Linked DNA regions of Homo sapiens: all the other regions are linked to region 2. Evidence: promoter capture Hi-C in 16 types of primary human blood cells and fetal thymus (Javierre and others, 2016). All regions are on one chromosome and are shown on one strand. The core of a region is centred on a gene start or on the middle of the fragment in contact, and the rest is flanking DNA. Distances in the headings are between cores, read along the strand shown.

Region 1 (4,262 bases), core at 1-2,500, 590 kb before region 2:
GCTTGCTCCAGAACCCAAGGCTAGTAAGGGGCAAAGCTGGGTCTAGAACTTCAACTTTCTCTTTTTCTACTCCACGATATGACTGACATTTAGGTTTGCACACAGCAGCGTTACATCTATGGGTTCTTATTTAATAATGATAAATAATTTTTTTTTCTTTTTTTTTGAGATGGAGTCTCGCTCTGTCGCCCAGGCTGGAGTGCAGTGGCGCGATCTCGGCTCACTACAAGCTCCGCCTCCCAGGTTCACGCCACTCTCCTGCCTCAGCCTCCCAAGTAGCTGGGACTACAGGCACGCCCAGCTATTTTTTGTATTGTTAACAGCGACGGGGTTTCACTGTGTTAGCCAGCATGGTCTCGACCTCCTGACCTCGTGATCCGCCCATCGTGGCCTCCCAAAGTGCTGGGATTACAGGCGTGAGCCACCGCGCCCGGCCAATAAATAATTTATTATTTTGTTGACCTAAAAGAAGGAACTGAGGCACAAAATATACTTTGGTTTTATTTTATTTATTTATTTATTTTGAGACGGAGTTTTTGCTCTGTTGCCCAGGCTGGAGTACAATGGCGCAATCTCGCCTCACTGCAACCTTCACCTCCTGGGTTCAAGCAATTCTCCTGCCTCAGCCTCCCAAGTAGCTGGGATTACAGGCTCCCGCCACCATGCCCGGCTAATTTTTGTATTTTTCAGTAGAGACGGGGTTTCACCATGTTGGTCTTGAACTGTTGACCCCAGGTGATCCACCCACCTTAGCCTCCCAAAGTGCTAGGACACCCAGCCACAAAATATAATTTTAAGGAGTTTATGCAGTCATAAAGAAGAACAAGATCATGTCTTTTGCTGGAACATGGATGGAGCTGGAGGCGATTATCCTTAGCAAACTGACACAGGAACAGAAAACCAAATACCACATGTTCTCACTTGTAAGTGCGAGCTAAATGATAAGAAATCATGAACAACATAGGTTGGAAACAAGACACTGGGGTCTACTTGATGGGGGAGGGTGGGAGGAGGGAGAGGAGCAGAAAGGATAACTATTGGGTACTGGGCTTAGTACCTGCGTGATGAAAAAATCTGTACGACAAGGACCCCGTGATGCAAGTTTCCCTTCACATGTACCCCAAACCTAAAATAACAGTTAAAAAAAAGTTTACTTGAGCCAAGTTGAGAGGACAGCCACCTGGAAGACTCAGACCCAGGTCACCTTGGATATGAGCTCTGTTAGGCCTTTGACAGAAGCAGGTTTTCCAAAGCAATAAGAGGGACAGGGAGTGGGCTGATACAGCTGTTTGTCAGGAATTCCCATTGGTTAGACAAATAAGATTGATTAGTGATTGACTATACATTGGTGAACTGTGGGGTATGGAGTATGGTGTCCAGTGAGTGGCCTTGCTTGGTTAGTTGATAGCTGCTTGTGGCAGCAGCTGGTCTAGAGCCCACATAGCAAGCAGCTTCAAGAGCTGATTACTTAGCTCAAGGCGGGTGGTGGGATGGACTGCTGCCTCACTCTCATGCCTCTGTGGGTCTATAATTTATAGCAGGCTTGCATTCCTCAGATAAAGTTTCTTTTCTTTCTCAATTTCTATACAGAGATCCCTCAAGTTGCAGGAAATATGGACAGGTACTCAGGCCTTTTGATTTCCAGCACACAAGTTTCTATACCCTTGCCAACAGTTAGCTGCCTGATCTTTTCTAAAAGGGCTCAATGAATGCAAACGTCAAACTTCTCTTTGCAGCTAGATCCAAATGATCACCCTGCATTAGTCTGTTCTCACACTGCTCTAAAGAAATACCTGGCTAATTTATTAAAAAAAGAGTTTTTTGTTTGTTTGTTTTTAGGCTCACTGCAAACTCCGCCTCCCGGGTTCAAGTGATTCTCCTGCCTCAGCTTCTCCAGTAGCTGGAACTACAGGTGCCCACCACCACACCCGGCTAATTTTTGTATTTTTAGTAGAAACAGGGTTTCACCATGTTGGCCAGGCTGGTTTCAAACCCCTGACCTCGTGATCCACCCTCCACGGCCTCCCAAAGTGCTGGGATTACAGGCGTGAGCCACCGCGCCTGGCAAGAAAAGAGGTTTAATTGGCTCACGATTCTGTAGGCTGTACAGGAAGCATAGCAGCTTCTGCTTCTCCGGAGGTCTCAGGAAACTTTCAATCATGGTGGAAGGCAGAGGGGAAGCAGGCATCTTACATGGCTGGAGCAGAAGGAAGAGAGAGAAGGGGAAGGTGTTCCACACTTTTCAAACAAGCAGATCTCATGAGAACTCACTTTACAGTACCGAGGGGGGATGCTGTTAAGGTGTTCATGAGAACTCCGCGCCGTGATCCAATCACCTCCCACCAGGCCCCATCTCCAATACTGGGGATTCCAATTCCCCATGAGATTTGGTCGGGGTACACAGATCCAAACTGAAGCAGAAAAATAGGGTCTGGAAGCAGGGAACATAAGGCCGATTCACACTTCAGCTATTACAGGAAATATCCTCTCCACAGGGTGCACACCGAGTAAAAGACTGTGTATCTTTACTTCATCCTCTTCATTTACACAGGGTGCACCCAAAGTAACCAATGGAATATAACCTCTAGAGGGTATCTAAACTCCCAGAAATTCTGTAACGGGGCCTTAGAGCCCCTCTGTTCAGCCCTGCTCCCACACTGTGGAGTGTACTTTCATTTTCTTTTCTTTTTTTTCTTTTTTTTGAGACAGAGTCTTGCCCTGTCACCCAGGCTGGAGTACAGTGGTCTGATCTCGGCTCACTGCAACCTCTGCCTCCCAGGTTCAAGCAATTCTCTGCCTCAGCCTCCCGAATAGTTGGGATTACAGGCGCCCGCCATCTCACCCAGCTAATTTTTGTATTTTTAGTAGACACGGGGTTTCACCATCTTGGCCAGTCTGGTCTTGAACTCCTGACATCAGGGTGATCCACCCACCTCGGCCTCCCAAAGTGCTGGGATTACAGGCTTGAGCCACTGCGCCCAGCTGTGTACTTTGATTTTCAATAAATCCCTTCATTCCTTCCTTATTTTGTTTGTGCCTTTTGTCTAATTCTTTGTTCAAGACACCAAGAAACTGGACACCCTCCACCGGTAACATATTTTGGCGAGCCAGCCAGGAGAAGGTAGGCCCAAAGTTTGGGATTTATTTTTCTCCTTTCCCCTTTTACATACAGGGAGATTTTTCTCTGTCTGTCTGTTCCTTTCCACCTCGGGACCCTTGGTGGGAAGCGCAGAAACATGGAAGCAACTGCAGGTTTCTGGCTGTGACCAGTGAAATAAGGGGTTTCCATGTGGAGGTGCCTAACCACCACCACCCTATTCACTTAAGGGACCTGAGTGTTTTTCTTTTTTCTTTTCCTTTGTTTGTTTTTCAGTCTTTTAGCGGCTGTTTCCTAGTAGCTTCTTGGAAATTGAGGGCAATTCGCTGGGGTCACTCCCTGGTATCGCCTGAAGGCCAAAGAGTGAATGGGAATAATTGCCCTACCCAGAAGGGGGAATGACTCTTTTTTTTTTTTATCTTTTCCAGGTGTGGTCCCTGATCCCTACGGTGGTGGTGGTAACTCACACTTGTTTCAGGTGACTTAAACCTTTTCTTATGCTAAGTTTTTTGCTTGTCCTATTCAACTATCTAAGGACAAAAAAGCCCACCCAGCATCCAGTTCCTATGTATCATTACAGTTCAGGGCTATCCTTATCAAGCTCATAGCTCATAGGAGGCTCTGGAGGGAAAACATGCAGAGAAAGGTCAGAGACGTCTGACACTCTTTTGGACCCCATAGGGGGACGCCCTGAGGATCCTCCGAATCTCAACCTCTCCAAAGGGGGTGCTCTCGGCAGAGGTTTTGAGGTCTAGTACTAAGCCCCCCTTAGAATTTTCTCTCCGGTTTGCAATACTGTTTAGCCCCAGTATAGTTTGGAATCTGGAGTTTCCTGTTGAATGGGAAAGTGGGATGGCATTGCATGTATCCAGCCTTTGTTGCTGCTGTTCTAAGCAGGGGGCCTGGTTAACATGTGACATGCTCCTTGGGTGCTGTTTGGCCCCAGTGTTCTTTGGAATCTGGAGAGGTTTGGTCTTGAAAAATCAAGCTCCATGGAGACTGCTTTACCTGAAATTTTGGTTCACAGCCTTTGTTGGATTATCTATTGAGACAAAGTAAATGCCAACAAGCTTGTATTGCTATCTCACAGCTAAGGTTCCAAGCTGTTGGTTCTTCGTTTATGTGTGGGTCTACATGTCTAGATGTGTTTATTTGTATGTACACC
Region 2 (4,125 bases), core at 48-2,547:
GAGGAATTTTGTTATATTTATTTGTTTTTTTTGGAGACAGGGTCTTGCTCTGTTGCCCAGGCTGGAATGCAATGGCGCAATCTTGGCTCATTGCAACTTCCGCCTCCCGGGTTCAAGCGATTCTTCTGTCTCAGCCTCCCAAGTAGCTGGGACTACAAGCACATGCCACCACGCCCAGCTAATTTTTTTATTTTTAGTAGAGAGGGGGTTTAACCGTATTGCCCAGGCTGGTCTCGAATTCCTGACCTCAGGTGATCCGCCCGCCTCGGCCTCCCAAAGTGCTGTGATTACAGGCGTCAGTCACCGCGCCCGGCCACCAGAGGCATTTTAAATGATCGTCCACATTAGAAACAAAACGAAACGAAACAACTTGGAAAAGTGAGCAAAAGCCTTCAATGTGTTCTTTTCTCTGCCTTTGTGATCCGAAAGTCGTGCTGCGGTTTATATACTCCTAGGCGAGGGTCGCGTGCTAATGATCCCTTTCTTTTCAATATGCACCCGCGGTGGGACTTACAGAACCTTTATTTTCAACACGTAAGCAGTCACGCTTCCTCGAGCCTAAGGCTTTGTGCTATTCTTAAATGCTTTCCTCCTCCGACGCTGCGGCTCCCTCCTGAGCCCGTAGCTGCAGCGCGTTGGTGAGGAGCGCCGGCCCTGGGTGCCGCCCGCCACCCTGGAGGGACCGGTCCGGGGGAAAGTGCTCGGGAGAAGCCAGGGGCCCCGGCTGCGGTCGCTGGCCCGGGGCTCTGCGCACTCCCCAGTGCCCGGAAACCGCAGGCTGGCCCAGCTTGCGGGCCGGGTCCGCCCACGTGGGTGTGGGAAGCGCAGGGGACGCGGGCCGCCCGGCCAAGGTGCCCTTGCCAGGAACCGGCGCAGACACAGGCCCTGGGCGGCGCGGGAACCCGGCCAGTCCCACCGCGCGCTGCGCCGCAGGGGCCCCACTGCAGGTCGCCCCAAGACCGCGCGACGCTCGGCAGGGCGCCCACAGTCCTGTGGGTCAGAGAAATGTCACCTCCACGTCCCCGCTGGCCGGGAGCCGCTGGAGCCTAGCAACCGCCTGCCAGCCCCGGCCCAGCCCCAGCCGTTTTACGGCAGCGGGCCCCGCCCCCGTGCGCCACCGAGGGCGGGAAGGAGGCGTGCGGCACGAGCCAGCCAGTCCGCGCCACCATCTCTGGCCCTGCGCCCTGTCATTGGCCGAGAGCCGGGCGGCGCGGCGCGGCCGTAAGGCGTGGCCGGGTGTCGTGAGGCGGGCCTTCGGGCTGGCTCGCCGTCGGCTGCCGGGGGGTTGGCCGGGGTGTCATTGGCTCTGGGAAGCGGCAGCAGAGGCAGGGACCACTCGGGGTCTGGTGTCGGCACAGCCATGGCGGGCGCGTTGGTGCGGAAAGCGGCGGACTATGTCCGAAGCAAGGATTTCCGGGACTACCTCATGAGGTGACGAGCGCCGCAGGCCGAACCCCGCAACCCGGAGGGGCTCCCGGGAGGCTGCGACCCGTGCAGTCCGCGACGAGGGCGGCCGCGAGGACGCGGTGGCCCCGGGCAGCGGGTGGGCCGGGGCCCAGGCGAGAGGGTGCGCTTGTCAGGGGGGCCCCACCCGGATCCCTCCCGGACCGCCACACCCCGAAGCGGACGGCGTAGAGAGCCGGTGACAGTGGGCGCCTTTCAGGGCGGGGGTGACAGTGGGCGCCCCTCAGGGCGGGGGTGACAGTGGGTGTCCTCTCCCGGCAGGGTGACAGTGGGCGCTCCTCAGGGCGGGGGTGACAGTGGGTGTCCTCTCCCGGCAGGGTGACAGTGGGCGCCCCTCAAGGCAGGGGTGACATTGAGTCCCCTTCAGGGAGTGGGTGACGGTGGGCGTCCCTCCTGGCCAAGGTGACACTGGGGACGCCTCTCCTGGTAGGCATAACAGTGGACGCCCTTCCCGGCCAGAGTGGCAGTGGGGACCTGGAGGGACGAAAGCGACGGCGCTCCTCAGGACAGGGTGACCATGGGGACGCCTCTCCCGGCAGGGGTGACAGTGGGCGCCCCTCAGGGCAGGGTGACCCGGCAGGGGTGACAGAGGCTCGTTCCTCTCCCATGGTTGGCAGTGGGCACGTCCCTCCGGGCCAGTTGACAGTGGCTCGCTCCTCCGGGCGGGAGTGGTTTCCTGGCCGGTTTCTACCAGATCCTCGGAGTGGGTCGCCGGTCACCTGCGGCCGTCCAGGTGTGCCAGAGGCGGCGACCTGGGTGTGGGGTGGGGAGACGCCAGCGGGAGGCGCTGCTGAGAGCGCGGCGCGGCGCTGTTGGAGCGGAGCTTCGGGTGCGCCCAGCGCGCTTCTGGGACAGCGGAAATAAAATGTGCTGGCCTTGGGTTCGCCTTTCGGTTTTCTCATTCTAAGGACTTTAAGCTTGGGAGGAAGTACAATTTAAGATGTTTTTATATACGAAATTCTGTCAACCAAAGTAAAGTGACGTGTCTCTAAGGTCATACTTTTTCTTCTTGTTCTATTTTCTGTTAACTCCTCCTTTCCAGTTAGAAACAAAGAGCATTCGCGGTTGGAAAGCCTGAAAATACACTTTCTATAATTTATTTGCACCTCTCATCTTGGGGCGCTTGCTTTTATTTCAAAATATTGAATATAACTTTGAAGCAGTTTTAGGTTATTTAGGAGTGTAATTTTAGTTAGTTTTTCAGTGTATGATTTTAAAACCTAGGTACGTGTACAGCTGCGGTTTTTTTTCGGTAGTTAATAGTGTGGTCAAGAGGTAAAGAGATGAAAGCTGAGGAGGAATAAATCCTGTTATAACCACACAAAAGGGATAGTATGAAGGCAACTTGATTTTAGCAATAAAAAAGTTTTAAATCCTGAATTTTATTGCAAATACTGTTTACTTCTACTTTTATAGAGCAGTAGGGTAGGAAAAATAATTCAGTCTGCCATATGGTAAACTTGTAAACAGAAGCTTCACTTCTGACTTTCAAAAAAAGACATTTCTATGCTTAAATAGAACTACTATTAATTAAGATGGGTGTTTAGCACTGTGGAGCACAGCAATGTATCAGATTAATGGTAGTAAAAATGTGAACAAGGTAGCAGTCTGAGGGTATGCTCTCAATCCTTGCTGTTAAGTTTCTCTACAGCTTTGAATATTACTTTAGCTTTTTACTAATGTGTTGGATACTGAGCCTTCCTAATAGGTACAGCTAAGGATAACATTGTGTGGTAAAATTAAAAATACAGTTATGACACCTAGCTATATAAAAATTATGCTGATAATTACTTAACCGTTTTCTTTTCTTTTTTTTTTTTTTTTTTTTTTTTTGAGACAGAGTTTGTCTCTTGTTGCCCAGGCTGGAGTGCACTGGCACTATTTTGGCTCATCCAAACCTCCGCCTCCTGGGTTCAAGTGATTTTCCTACCTTAGCTTCCCAAGTAGCTGGGATTACAAGCATGCACCACCACGCCAGGCTAATTTTGTATTTTTAATAGAGACGGGGTTTCTCCATGTTGGTCAGGCTGGTCTCGAACTCCCGACTTCAGGTGATCCGCCCACCTCGGCCTCCCAAAGTGCTGGGGTTAGCAGGTGTGAGCCACCATGCCCGGCCCTAACAGTTTCATTACATAGGAAGAATTTGTTAAATATATTTTCAAGGAAGAGAGTTCTGCTTTTCTAAGTGTTATATTTTCTTCTACTAAATGGGTTTCCAAGAGCCAGGCTTTTCAATAGGATACTTCAGTATATCATCTAACCTTTTTTTCTAAAATTAACTTTATGTAGCTTTAAATTTTTATACTTTCTCCAGTATTTAATTCAATTACACTTTGACTAAATAAGGAAAAGAAGAGAATTGCATTACTCGGAACAGTGTTGCCTGGTAGAGCACCACACTAAGATTCAGAAGAATGACTTACAGTCCAGGATCCCCAGCAAGTTGATCCCAGCAGACTTTATTTGTCCATCAAATGGGTTTAATGATAATGCTCTTTTTGGGTTATCAAGAAAATTAAATTGGATAAGGGATGTGAAAATACTTGGAAACTCCAAATCACTCTACATTTTATTATATCCTTCTGTTTTTGCAAGCGAAAACATTTTTTAAAGTTTACAGTTATTTAGAAAGTTAAAATCTTGTGTGAGCTATAAAGCTCT
Region 3 (4,410 bases), core at 1,391-3,890, 740 kb before region 2:
ACCTCCGCCTCCCAAGTTCCAGTGATTCTCCTGCCTCAGCCTCCCAAGTAGCTGGGATTACAGGCACATGCCACAATGCCTGGCTAATTTTTGTATTTTTAGTAGAGACGGGATTTTACCATGTTGGCCAGGCTGGTCTCGAACTCCTGACCTCAGCTGATACACCCAGCTTGGTCTCCCAAAGTGCTGAGATTACAGGTATGAGCCACTGCACCTAGCCTGGCTCCCTTTAATATCATTGTGTATTATTTTCTGGTCATAAGATACTGCCTTCATAATCACAGTGGCATTGGCAGCCCTCATGAGAGCTTTGCAACTGAGACTTGTTGAAATTTCCACCTTGTCAATTTCTCTTAACTCCCCCTCACAAGCTCCTTCCTGCTCAATCTTAGGCTGTCCGGGATGCCCACTCATCAGCCTTCATTGCATAAATGACTTACTGCCTCCAAAATATTTCTTAGCTTAATTTTTTTGTTTTCCAAAATCTTTCAGTGTATTTGATCAAATAAAGAATCACATTCCTCTCCAGACTGATGCCCTGAGGATATCTCCTGTATGAGGAGCAAGTACCCAGACCATCACCGAAGCTCCAGTGCAGGGAGCGAGTATGAAATCCCTTACTATACACTTAGAGGAAAAGTGGGCTTCCTAAAACCATAAAGTCAATGCTTTCAGGAAAGGAAGTCTGTGTCGTTAAGCATAAACATGGTCAATATGCCAGCATTCTGGAAGATTAATGAGTAAAACAGTCCCATTCCTGTCAGACTAGGGGATCAAAGAAGTTACATTTTTGAAAGAAAAGTCTCAGGGGCCTTGGCATGCTCACCTCAGGCAGTGCTCTGATCCACTCCCTTCAGCCTCACTCCGGGCCCCACAATCTGATGACTCCAGCTCACCAATGTGATGACCATCTGTCAATAAGATGCAGCTTCTAGCAGTCATTAAGAAAAAAGCGGTGAGCTACTAGAATTGCCCAAAAGCAAGTTCTGGATTGCCACTTCCTATTGAAAAGTAACGCCTATTTGCCCAAATGCAAATGGTTAACCATGTATATCCTGTAGGGTATTGAGTAATCGTAGGATCCCTGGAATCAAAGTCCAACCAATGGTAAAGTGATAAGAAAAAGAGAGGCATTGAACTCCCCAGAGGAAGACAGCCTTTGCATGGTTTTCAATTTGCAGCAATGAGTTTGTACCCAAACTTTCATACTCCTTTACCTGGTTATCTCCTGGGAGCAAGGAGTCTCTGCAAGCCGACTGGGAAGATTTGGGAACGTTTGCAAGAGGCCGTGTGAGTTAAAGACATGGGCCGGGAGCACTTTTGTGTGGAGTCAGTCAGTCCTGGCCCCACCCCGAAAGCTGTGCAGCCACAGAAGGGCCACTGAGCCCCAGCAAGCCTCGGTTTCCTCTTTCAGAAGAAAGACCATGACAGCTCTAACCTCAGAGGGTTCCGAGAAATAGCCATGCCCGTCCACGGAAGCCGAGGAGCAGCGCCTGAAGGAGAGGTGGTTCTCCATGCATCTCAGCTATTATTACAAGATACTTTGAGAGCAACAGAGGAGCTCCTCAATCAAAAGCGGGCACCTAATCTTCATGTGGCACAGAGACAGAATCTCTGGGTGACGATGCGGGTCACTGCCCTGTCTTTAGACATATCAAGGAAAGCAGCTGACGACAAGTCACTCAGAAATTTATTTGTAGATGCAAGTGCTTAAAAAATAGAAAAGAACCCTAGAATCACAAGGCTGTTCGCACCTGGGTTGCTGTGAACCACGTCTCAGGAAATAACAAAAGTTTTACAGACAATAGGTTCGTGATCAATTCTCAGCCAGCCTGATGGACTCACACTTTCTCCACTTCCCAGTGCACTGTGCCTCCCCACCCCCAGGCTGCCCACGAGGCTCCACTGCCCGCTGCCCAGCTCTGCTCTATCTTGACCACACCTCACCTGGGTCGCTCCTTCCTGCAGAGCCCTGAGCTCCACGTCCTCACGCCTGAGTGAGCCTGAGAAGCTGGAGCGCACCCCTTATCATCTCTCTGGGGAACCAGCTAGACACAGCAGGACCTGTGTCCTGCTCAACCCCACTGGCCATTTTCCCGGGTTTGTCCAGGGTCCCCTCCAAAGACTCTGCTGGCCCCAGTGGCTCCCCCTTACTGGATAAAAGAAGGGCCTTTTCTGTTTGAAGTGCTTGCAGACCTATGGTCACGGGGTCCTCTTGCTGCCATCATTCCTCTCCCTGCCTTACAACAATCCTTCCAAACAAAGCCTCTCCTGACTAAGTCCTGGCTGTTTTCCTCTAACAGAGCTCACAACTTCCTTCACTCTGGGTGACCTGTCCCTCCTCCATCTGAGAGAAGCCCTGGGGCGCTCCTCCCCAGTAGTTCACCCCAACCCGAAACCTGCTGATTATTGGATGGCGAACAAAGCAAGACCCTCCCCTCTGCTCTTACGACCCCTCCCCTGCTACCTCAGCTCCATCCCCTCCTCCTCATTTCTACCATCGCCCCTGAGGCTTCTGCTTCCTGTAGAAGGGCTGCCCATAGGAGGAAGAAACAGGCCACCAGGTAACACACCCCTCCTGCGTTCTCAGGTGCCCTCTAACACTGCCCTTGGATGGTCTTGCTTAGCGTGAAGGTAAGAAAGTAAGCCCTTTTATAGATGATTAGCCCTGGCAATGCCTGCCTGGAAAGAAAAGAAAGAAAACGAAAAACAGATTGGACTTTGCTGGGGACCAAAAATGAACATTAATTAAGCAGAAATGTAACGTGTTGAACAAAACCGCGTTGTGTGGCCACGCAGATGCTGAGGGACCCAGGAGGCCCAATGACACCCCCTTCCTTGCAGAACAAAGAGATTCATGGCCACTGTGGGGGCCCCTTCTGTTAGACTGCACAGAGGCAGGGATCTGGAGGTCTCCAAGAGTGGCCTCCTCCCTGCAACACCCTCCCTGCCCCAGAGGGGAAGGTAGTGGATGGAGATTGAGACCCTGCTGCTGACTGGCTCCCAGCCTGGGCTGGTTGCCTTTACTTCGAGAGCTGAGGTGGAAGCTCCATATGGCACTGACCTCTGCAATGTTTCTCATGTCCTTTGCCCCATATTCCTTCTGTAGTTCCAAGTCAAATCTAAATTATATGTCACCCTGAGAAAGCTGAGACCTATTTGGTTTTTAGCTCTCTAAAAATGCCCCTATATTAAAGATCCTCTTAGATCTCACTCTTATTGAAACTTCCTCAAATTTAAAATCACACTGTTCATTTGCATAGACACTGTGAGGTGCATAAAAGGCGAGGAATGTGGCTTACAGTCACATGTTTCATAACAATAAGTTTCCAGGCAGAAAATTCCACAGCAACATCAGAAGTTCATTCCTAAGAAAAGCCAGGGACAGTTTGGTAAATTCAGATAACAGTCATAAGGAGTTGCTTTAAAACTCAACATTGAGGCATTTCTAGGAAAGCCATCTGCCTCTGGCTACAATCCTACAGAGGACACTGTGTACAGCTCAGAATGGGTCACCATGACCGTTTCTCCTTGTGATTGCCTTTAATTCACAAACAGGCTCTGCACACACTGGAGGCCATAGCACACACACTGGAGGCCATGGCACACCACTTTGTGGACATTGGTCATCTGGGTGTCAGTCATCTTTTGAAATTATCAGCAAAGTTGAAAAGATAGTAAATGCTTTGTTAACCCCTAAAGTAACACTCTGTATAAACTTTGAGGAAGTCAATATGGTGAGCTGGTTGGGAATTCTTGCTGAGATACCAGGCAGCAGCAGTGCACCACCTGCCGGCCACATGTGGGAGTCCCCCAGCCCAATCGAGCCTTCGGATGACATGGCTCCCACCCACTCTCTGATGGTACCTGCAGTGGAGGCCCCAACTGAGAAGCACTCAGCCGAGCCCAGTTGACCCCCAGAGCCACAAGAGATTGTAAATAAATCACTGTTAAAGCCACCATGACTCAAGGTGGTAGATAACTGGGGCAGTTTTCTACTCTCATTGTGCGCACAAAACTTCTGAAGTAATGAACATGTTTTTAAAAAACAAAACAAATTAAAATAAAAGCGTCATTTGTTGGTTTTTACAAAACCCTCCCCAGGAAAGCCTAGAGTTAGCACAGGTGCTGAGAGTGGAGGGACAGGAAGAAGAAACCTACAACAATGACAGCTGGCAGGCAGCCACAGGCTCACACCCATTGCAAAAACATAGACTACCGAGCCCAGCAGTGCTTGGATCTGTGTTATGTGGTTTGGATCTATATCTTTTTCTTCATAAAAAAGTTAAAAAAGGCTACTTAACAAATTACATCAGCAAATTCTCTAGTAGGGACAAAAACACATTTTATAGGAGGAAGTACAAGCTGTGCTGACACCTTGAATTTTGGAGTTTACGAAGATGTCAAATG
Region 4 (4,217 bases), core at 1,360-3,859, 630 kb before region 2:
AACATTTCCAACTAAATGGTAAAAACCTAAGCTAGTAGGGCCTATCAAAAGTCTGTTATAATTTTCTGATACTTTTTTTTTTTTCCAAACAATTAGGATGTTTGGTACAACGAAATGGAATACAATGAGATAAATTATCACAGATGATACTTTGGAAGTCAGCAAGTATTAATATATATTTCAAAATTATTAATTCATTTTTAAAATGCCCTCTCATTTCATATTTATACTCCTTGTATACCAAATCTTTTATCTTTAATCTTTATTTTATTTTTATCTTTATTGTCTCTTAGCAACAACAAAAATAAGAACTTCAGTTTTGCCCAAGTTACATCAGTTCAAAAACCCTACAAATCAATTCTAACTATACATATGAATGTTTTTTTAAGTTTATTTATAATATGAATATAGCTTCCCTGAAGAAAGTGCCAAGGGTCTCTGAGTGAGCCACTAGTACTTGTCGCCTCCTGCATTCGAAAGCAACCGGACACATGCGACACTCCTGATCAGTGCTCCAGAGCTCCGGGAGCAGCGGTACCCTAGGCCCTCCTGCATCGCATGCCCAGTTCACGTCTGCAGGACAGGCAGGGCTCCCATGATGGCTTTGCATACCTTGGGAGATGCCACTCACCTACCATGCGGATGGCTCCATCTGGAGTCTTGCTGTGTACAACCTCAACCACCACATGCAACATAGCATCTGGATGATGAAGATGTTGAGAATGTTAAGGCTGTTGGGAACTCACTGCATGCACAAGGCAAAGCAGAAAGGCAGGGGAACAAAGAGCTAAGGGCTTACCCATATAAGTAAGGCTGGCAATAGGCCACATGGGGTACAATACAGACTTCTCACAAGGCAGTTCAGAAACAAGATCAGAAATGTACAGGGAAAAAGGTTTCCAAGTAATTGAGGAAGCATCCTGGCCTCAGGAACACAACAATGAAATAGAAGAGACCCAAATTATGGACTAAATCCTGGGATATGGGCCCACCTAGATTCTTCAATCCCCTCTCAAGTCAGGGCACACACTACACTCTGCCCAAAGTACCGCGAAAGCTAAAGTCTGGGCCCATCACAGTTATTTCACATCACACAAAGTGAAAACCACATCTCTTAGGATGCCTTGGCTCTATGTATAAACTTCTTGAAAATGTTTAAGTTGTTTGAAACCCACAATAGCAGTAAGATTATAAAAGCTTAATACTATAAAATATGCTTTTAAATTTTAGAAAAGCCCAAGAAACTGATTTTTAAAATCTATTAAGAAGTTTTATATCTTACTTAAGGTATGTCTCATCTCTCCAATTAAACTATAAACTCCTTAAGTGAGAACTGTGTTAAATGTGTTGCCCAAAGCATTAACACACAATAACTTTCACTATGTAAATGTTAAAAAAAACTTACTAAATCATTATTTTAAAGCAACTTCTTGTTTAATAACGCATAAAGAACAGTGTGAACAGAAAGAGAATACAGTAATAGGAATTTACCTTTGAAACTCCTAGAACTAAAGCCATCTAACACAACAGGTGGAATTTTTAAAAAGCTTTAAGTTTGAAGATTTTCAACCTAGTGAAAAAATCTATACATAACCAAAGTTCAGCATAGGACTAATGAATCTCACAGAACTGAAAATTAAATATTTTGTCTTATCCTAAGTACATGTAAAAACTGTACTGATAATGTTTCTAAAACTTCTAATATTTAAATTTCATAAGCAGCTAATCTACTGGATTAGTCAATTTTTGTGATCTTTAGGAGAGGATGAAAAAGCAGCCAAGGCCTTGGTAGTATGCAGCACTGGCCCCCAGCAGTCTACTGTGAGCAGGGGCACTGAATAAAGGATCACAAATGTGCAATTGTCTGAAAAATGACAGAACACAAAAACATCTTGGAGGAAATACGTTTAATTTTTAATTTATCAATAGGTACGTATTCAAAAAAATAGTTTGATGTTCTATTTTCCTCAAATAAAAATCACAATGTTACTAATATGTATATAATCATCCATTCAAAAGAAAAATACGTATTTTCAACTCTAATTGCCAACACAACAGGAATTTTCAAAGTAAAACTGAGAGCATGGTTTTAAGATTCAACAGTATGATTTTCACCTGGATAAAAACTGACAGTGAAATTTACTTTTTATTTCATGCCATCGTTACTTTTTTGTTTTTTTAGACAGAGTCTCACTCTGTCACCCATGCTGGAGTGCAATGGCACGATTTCAGCTCACTGCAACCTCCGCTTCCCGGGTTAAAGCGATTCTCCTGCCTCAGCCTCCCAAGTAGCTGGGATTACAGGCGCACACCACCACGGCCGGCTAATTTTTGTATTTTAGTAGAGGCGGGGTTTCACCATGTTGGCCAGGATGGTCTCGAACTCCTGACCTCAAGTGATCCGCCCGCCTTGGACTCCCAAAGTGCTGGGATTACAGGCGTGAGCCACCTAGCCCAGCCTCAAGTGACATTTCATAAGAAAACTGAGAACCCAATCTGACAGGAGCCCAGCGCTCCAGGAGGCCCCAGAGTCGAGACCTGATGCCCACAGGCTGCTTTTCTCCTCTGCCCTCATGCATGTTACCTTGTCACCAGCCTTCTGCCCGCTTGTCTTCTTCTTACCTTGTCCTTTATACCTTGGTATCTGAGCATGAGAATAAAATGAGATTTTACCACAAAATAGAAATCTTTAAAAAATAAACTAACTCATTACCAAACAAAGATACCTACTGAAAAATGTCTCAGAAGTGGAACATCTAGTTAATATGTTCTGTGAGGCCTGCTTTTTTTGGTCCTTTCTTAACTATTCCTAGAGTGATCTACCTCATGTTTACTGTTTCCAATAGTTACTAGGTCAAACACAGATACCTTAGCCTCCACCTGCTCAGCTTCTACTGGGTGGAGAATCAGCTCTTTCATGCTACATTTTAGCAGCATTCTAAATAAGCCTCACTTGAGTTCCTAGGCAACTTCCTTGAAGACTTGTCCTGACCTCATCTGACCTTTCTCAGGAGCACACAAAGCTGGTTCCTAAAGGTTGGGTGGACCCTACTCTTGGAGAGTTTCTAGCATTCTCCGTGGGCCCTCAAGGCTGATTTGGTAGGAGGTAGCTAGCAAGAAGACGGTAGGGAAAGTACTGGATCCCAAATCCAGGTCCTTTAGTACTAGAGAAATTGCATTTTAAGTGCCAAAATAAGGGTTTATTTTAGAACAGATGCAACCCTACACAAGGACTATCTAGGGTATTTCTGAAGTGGGTTTATGAGGCCAACTGAGAAACGGAGACTAAACTAGAATAACGGGATGACGGCAGAGACAGCTGTTAGGACAAACGCTATTCTCTAAAGCAGCCTCAGGACAGTCCCCCCTTCTCTGGAAAAACTCACAGCATCATTTCCTGACTGACTTAAAACATTGAGATTCTCATTATAATTCTTAGATCTTAAAATGTATGTAGGGAGAATAAGAGTACGTAAAATAGACTTTAATATTTTACCCTGAAGACATACATTATATATAGGTTAGGATTGCTAATTTGCTTTAAAAACAGTAATAATTTGCTAAAAAGAGCTTCCAAATAGTCAAATGCTATAGGTACTGATAAGTATTTTGGAATATTCATTAATTTTAATTTTTCTAAAGCCAGGTATTTTCATGAAAAGTAAAGCTTACTTACATAGGCTGTTTTATTTGCAATTAATTTAAAGAAATTTTAAAAATTTACTCATGACCTTACTCTATCACTGGGGTTATAGCCTCCTATGAGTATTTAGGAAAAAAAAAATTTTAAAAAAAGGCCTTCCCTACACCAACTAGAAATCTCAGAAGGAGCAACTATAAACAATACAATAGTTGTTTCTTTGGTTAGAAATGAAGTATAAAATTCCTTAGTTTTCCAAACTTAAACAATAAAAAGGAGCAACAACATCAAAGAACAAGCAAAAAATAACAGCAATCGTTCAGCAATGTTCTGTGCCTAGACATTTAAAAAAGAAAGGTATCGTGTAGTATAATCACTACGTCCTGGAAGTTCATCTATTTAAAAAGATGCAACTGTATCTGAGAGTCGATCCACCACCATAAACCCACATGGGACCTCATCTTTTGGAATGGACTCCACAGCATCACTCTATTCCTATGGGATGAAAATCAAAGGGACAGTCAAAGAATACAAACCCGACCTGTCATGGACTGCAGGTTTGTGTAGTCCACAAACC
Region 5 (4,035 bases), core at 764-3,263, 710 kb before region 2:
GACTTAGAGGCCCCGTGGAGCCCTCGCCCTTGCCCTGCTCTCCTCCCGCTGCCCTGTGTCCTTCCCAGCTCTGTTGTTTATGCCAGTTGCCCCGGCAATCACACTGTGTCTGGGATCTGTCCAGCCGGTCCCTGCTCTAGGGCCCTGGTCCTTGCTGCTTCTCTCCCAGGTTGCTCTCCAGACAACCACACTGTCGGCCCCTTGGGTGTCTCAGTTCAAGCTTCCCTGACTACCCAGCTTAAAAGAGCTTCCCGATCCCAACTCCCTTCCTGGCTCTGATGCTGCTTCCTTTTCTCCTGGGCACTGGTCCCCTCCTGGCACGTTGTCGCTTGGATGTAAGGCCCCATAGAGAAGGCGCTTAGCCTGCATTCCTGCCTACCCAGGGTCTAGCGCAGACAGCAGGCGCTCAAGAAAGAGTTGCTGAGTGAGCGTGTGAATGAAGACTTGATGACTGACATACAAAATTAAAGAATCTGGGGTTTTTTAAAAGCTTATCTCATTTTTTGCAACAATCTTTAGACCTGATCTTCGATCAGCCTTTAGCTGATGTATAGATAGGGTGAGGTTGCCACAATCTGGGGTAGATCAGCTTTGTGACTTGTCATCTAAAAAGGGGAAGAGGTTTAACTTGAAAGAGAAAAAAAAAACAGTAGACGACCTTTATGTGGAACAGTTACGCGAAGCCTCATCGGTGGCCAGGCAACTTCCTTTCCAACTTCTTCTTACTCGGGACCCTCTGCCCATGTTTACATCTTGCCAAAGACCATGGAAACTGGTAAACATCTTGCCAAATAAAGCTGTTTAGACTGACTGAACATGCAAAGACGCCCTCTGTCCCTTGGACAACTACAGGTCAGGGAAATGAATGGAAGTCACATGAGACTCTACTCTTTCAAATTCCCTTTTAAAGTGGAAATTCCCTCGCTTGGTTATAGTATTAAAGGGAACAAGCCTAAGAAGTGGAATTACAGGAAAAATGGGCACGTGAGGATATGAGAGTATAGATGGTGTACGCTCATAGATGGTACAGAGTAGATGGGCATCATTTGGATAGAGAAACACAAAACACTCTTTGCTGAACTTGAAGATGATATTGCTGGTTAAGAGCACAGACTTGGGAATTATATCAGCATTTGAATCTCGACTCTTGACCCTACTACTTCCTAATGGGGTGATGTGTGTAAAGTTGTTAATCTTTCTGAGCCCTACCTGCCTCATGTGTGGTATATAGAGATGCAGGCACCTCAAAGGCCTGAGTCTGACACACAGTGGATGGCGAAAATTGGAGAGCTGGAGGAGGAGAGGCACATAGGTCATGCCTAAGTCATGAGAACATACAAACAACAAAATCAACAATAGAAATCTAGCTTCACTTGATTGATCCAGCTTGTCGGAAGATTGCTAAGAGATTCCACTCAACAACTAAACCGCCGTTCCACACTATGATTGCTGACTTGAGGCTGGTAACACCTTTTGGGAACGCTGTCTTGGGAACGTTCACAGGAAAATTGCTCCTTTGGGTACAAGGTTTTGAGATACAATCTCTGGGTCAATGAGTACTTTACATACAGGAACCCCAAAATGGAGGAAGTAGGCTATGGAGGAACAAGAAAAGAAGGGAAAAACAAAGCAGCCACAGAGGCGAGGTGGCTGCTCCCCTTCCTGCCACCTGGAGGAAGTTGGAGGCTAGTTCTGGAGACATCACAGTTTCTATTACTTTGGTTACTTGGCAGAGCCTAAAAACTTCCTCTTGTGTGGAAGAAAGAAAATCCTTTCTGTGTTGCTCCCTGGAGGGAAGAAAACCAGGCTGACTCTTGCTTCCATTTGAGGAGCTCAAAGGAAGCCATTTCCCACGATGGTCCCCCAGGCACAATCCTGCATGGAGCCCAGCCCTGGCCCACAGCTCCTTGACTACAATCCCCTTGACCCATTCATCACCCTTGCCACTGGCCCTATTCTTTGTGACTTGGCTCAACACTGGTGACTTCTTCTGCTGCCCTATTCACCTCCAGTCTGAGACTCAGGAGCATGTGGCCACCTGCTGCCACAGAGATGCCACACACATGGCCCAACGCCAACGGGGTCGCTTAAAATACATTGCTGATCTGTGGCCTATGTCTGGAGGAAAGGGGCCGGTGGGGTCCTACAGTGACCCGAGAGGCTCCTATTCTGAACCACAGAGAGCACCACACCAAGAGGCTGGTGTGATATGCTGCTGGGCCCACAGTTTTCATGGGCCCCATGTGCCTGGAGTGAAAGGTCTTTAGATCAATCAAAGAGATCCAGTGTCTGGGGAGTTCTTGTTTCTTCACACTGACCACTTCAATAACGCAAGGACGGGGATTTTCTTGGCTTTGACCAAGGCTGCAGTCTCTCCAGAGCTGAAAACTCAAGTTACTTCTGCCTGGTTCTGGCCTCCCCTGACTCGGCTCTGCCATTAACCAGTAAAACTAGTATCTCCTGTTCTAGAGGGAGGTCGTCATCCTGGTAGAGGGCCATGTGTAAGGATCTGCACCCCTCTGTTTAATTCTCCAGGAAGGTCACTGCAGCTGAGGTCAACTTCCTCCCCAGAGAAGCAAAACCTGTTGGCTGCAGAGGCTGCTTGTTAAACAGAGAGGCGTTACCTCCAGGAGATGTGTGACATCAGACTTTTCAGGGATAGTGCCCAGAAAGCTCAGAAACTTTGCTTAACAAACTCTTCCAGGTGATTCTGATATTAGCTAAATCTGAAAACCACAGAATTAAATGATGTTAGTTTTTTTCCCTCGAAATTTAAGTTTCATACTGACCCTTGAACTACTTATACTGAAAACATTTCAAACATTGATAGTTCATTGATACTAGCAACTGATCTGAAATTATTACTTTGCCTAAAAAAAACTGACAATTTCAGAATATTATCATTCCTTAGTAGTTTGCATTTATGACATTAGATAGTTCCAACTCCTTCCTCCACTTTGTGCAAATGATTTCATGTATCTTATTTCTACATCTGTCATAAACCCTGTTTACTATTTTTAATTTAGTTAACAATTTTTTTTTTTTTTTTGAGACAGGGTCTCACTCTGTTGCTCAGGCTGGAGTGCAGTGGTGCAGTCATGCCTGACTGCAACCTCACCCTCCTGGGCTCAACCTCCTTGCCTCAGCCTCCTGAGTAGCTGGGACTACAGGCATACACCACCATGCCCAGCTAATTTTTGTATTATTTGTAGAGACAGGGTTTCACCATGTTGCCCAGACTTGTCTCAAACTCCTAAACCCAAGCCATCTGCCCATCTCAGGCTCCCAAAGTGCTGGGATTACAGGCATGAGCCACTGCACCTGGCCACCATAGTTGACAGTCTTTTAAAGAATCAGCCATGAGAAAATGTTTTTAATATCCACTTTTACTATTTCTGGTGCTCACTTCTCTGTGTAACCCCAAATTTTTATCTGGTATAATTTTCCTATAGCCTAAAGAACTACCTTTAACATTTATTGTAGCACAAGTCTCTCAGCAGTGAGTTATCTTAGTTTTTCAGGGTCTAAAAAGCTTTTATTTTTGCCTTTAATTTAAAACAATATTTTAATGGATCTGTAATAGAATAATAGAATTCTGGATTAATTGTTTCAGTACTTTAAGATGTCAGTTCATTAACATCCAGCTTACATGTCTGACAAGAAATCTATTACAATTATCTTTCTTCTTGGGTATGTAATGTCCCCCACAACTCCCAAATGCATTCTACATTTTCTCCTTATCTTTGGTTTTAAAAAGTTTGATTTTATGTGTCTAGGTGGGGTTTTTTTTTTTTTTGGTATGGAGATTTTTTATTTGTTTTTGTATTTATACTGTTGGGATTCCCTGAGCTTCTTGGACCTGAGGTTTGCTGTCTTGCATTATATTTGCAAATTATCTCTTTAAATATTTCTTCTGTTTTATTCCTTGCTGTTTGTTTGCTTGTTCTGGGACTCCAACTGCATGTACATTAGATGATCTCACAGCTCTTGGAGGCCTTGTTAGACAGAGTTTTTCCCTCTATTTTATGTTTTTTT

Evidence for each region. Contacts are between HindIII fragments. The CHiCAGO score rates a contact against its expected background, and 5 or more counts as called.
Region 1: a fragment that was not itself captured here is called in contact with the fragment with the promoter of MPC1 in region 2 in 1 of 17 cell types (naive CD8 T cells); the score reaches 5.5 in naive CD8 T cells.
Region 3: a contact is called between a fragment that was not itself captured here and the fragment with the promoter of MPC1 in region 2, in 1 of 17 cell types (naive CD4 T cells). The highest score is 5.5, in naive CD4 T cells.
Region 4: a contact is called between a fragment that was not itself captured here and the fragment with the promoter of MPC1 in region 2, in 1 of 17 cell types (fetal thymus). The highest score is 6.1, in fetal thymus.
Region 5: a fragment that was not itself captured here is called in contact with the fragment with the promoter of MPC1 in region 2 in 1 of 17 cell types (non-activated CD4 T cells); the score reaches 5.8 in non-activated CD4 T cells.

What each region holds. Positions count from the first base shown.
Region 1 is chr6:166,972,052-166,976,313 of GRCh38, reverse strand. It overlaps LOC105378120 (a long non-coding RNA gene), which reads left to right and starts at 1,402. Exons shown (of 5, transcript NR_188001.1): 1 at 1,402-1,912; 2 at 3,062-3,121; 3 at 3,526-3,575. The HindIII fragment of the contact is 5,838 bases long and covers 1-4,169 here.
Region 2 is chr6:166,380,112-166,384,236 of GRCh38, reverse strand. MPC1 (mitochondrial pyruvate carrier 1) reads left to right here and starts at 1,297. Exons shown (of 5, transcript NM_016098.4): 1 at 1,297-1,431. The coding sequence starts at 1,361. It overlaps MPC1-DT (MPC1 divergent transcript), which reads right to left and starts at 1,059. Exons shown (of 1, transcript NR_189630.1): 1 at 1-1,059. RefSeq lists silencers at 625-1,364, 1,515-1,614 and an enhancer at 1,975-2,154. The HindIII fragment of the contact is 5,196 bases long and covers 1-2,383 here.
Region 3 is chr6:167,119,640-167,124,049 of GRCh38, reverse strand. It overlaps CCR6 (C-C motif chemokine receptor 6), which reads right to left and starts at 954. Exons shown (of 3, transcript NM_031409.4): 1 at 827-954. The HindIII fragment of the contact is 5,763 bases long and covers 1-4,410 here.
Region 4 is chr6:167,011,935-167,016,151 of GRCh38, reverse strand. CEP43 (centrosomal protein 43) reads right to left here. Exons shown (of 13, transcript NM_007045.4): 7 at 2,585-2,644. Among named protein-coding and RNA genes, the nearest start is that of CEP43, 15 kb to the right of the region's middle. The HindIII fragment of the contact is 2,120 bases long and covers 1,550-3,669 here.
Region 5 is chr6:167,087,997-167,092,031 of GRCh38, reverse strand. No RefSeq gene overlaps it. Among named protein-coding and RNA genes, the nearest start is that of CCR6, 33 kb to the left of the region's middle. The HindIII fragment of the contact is 3,042 bases long and covers 493-3,534 here.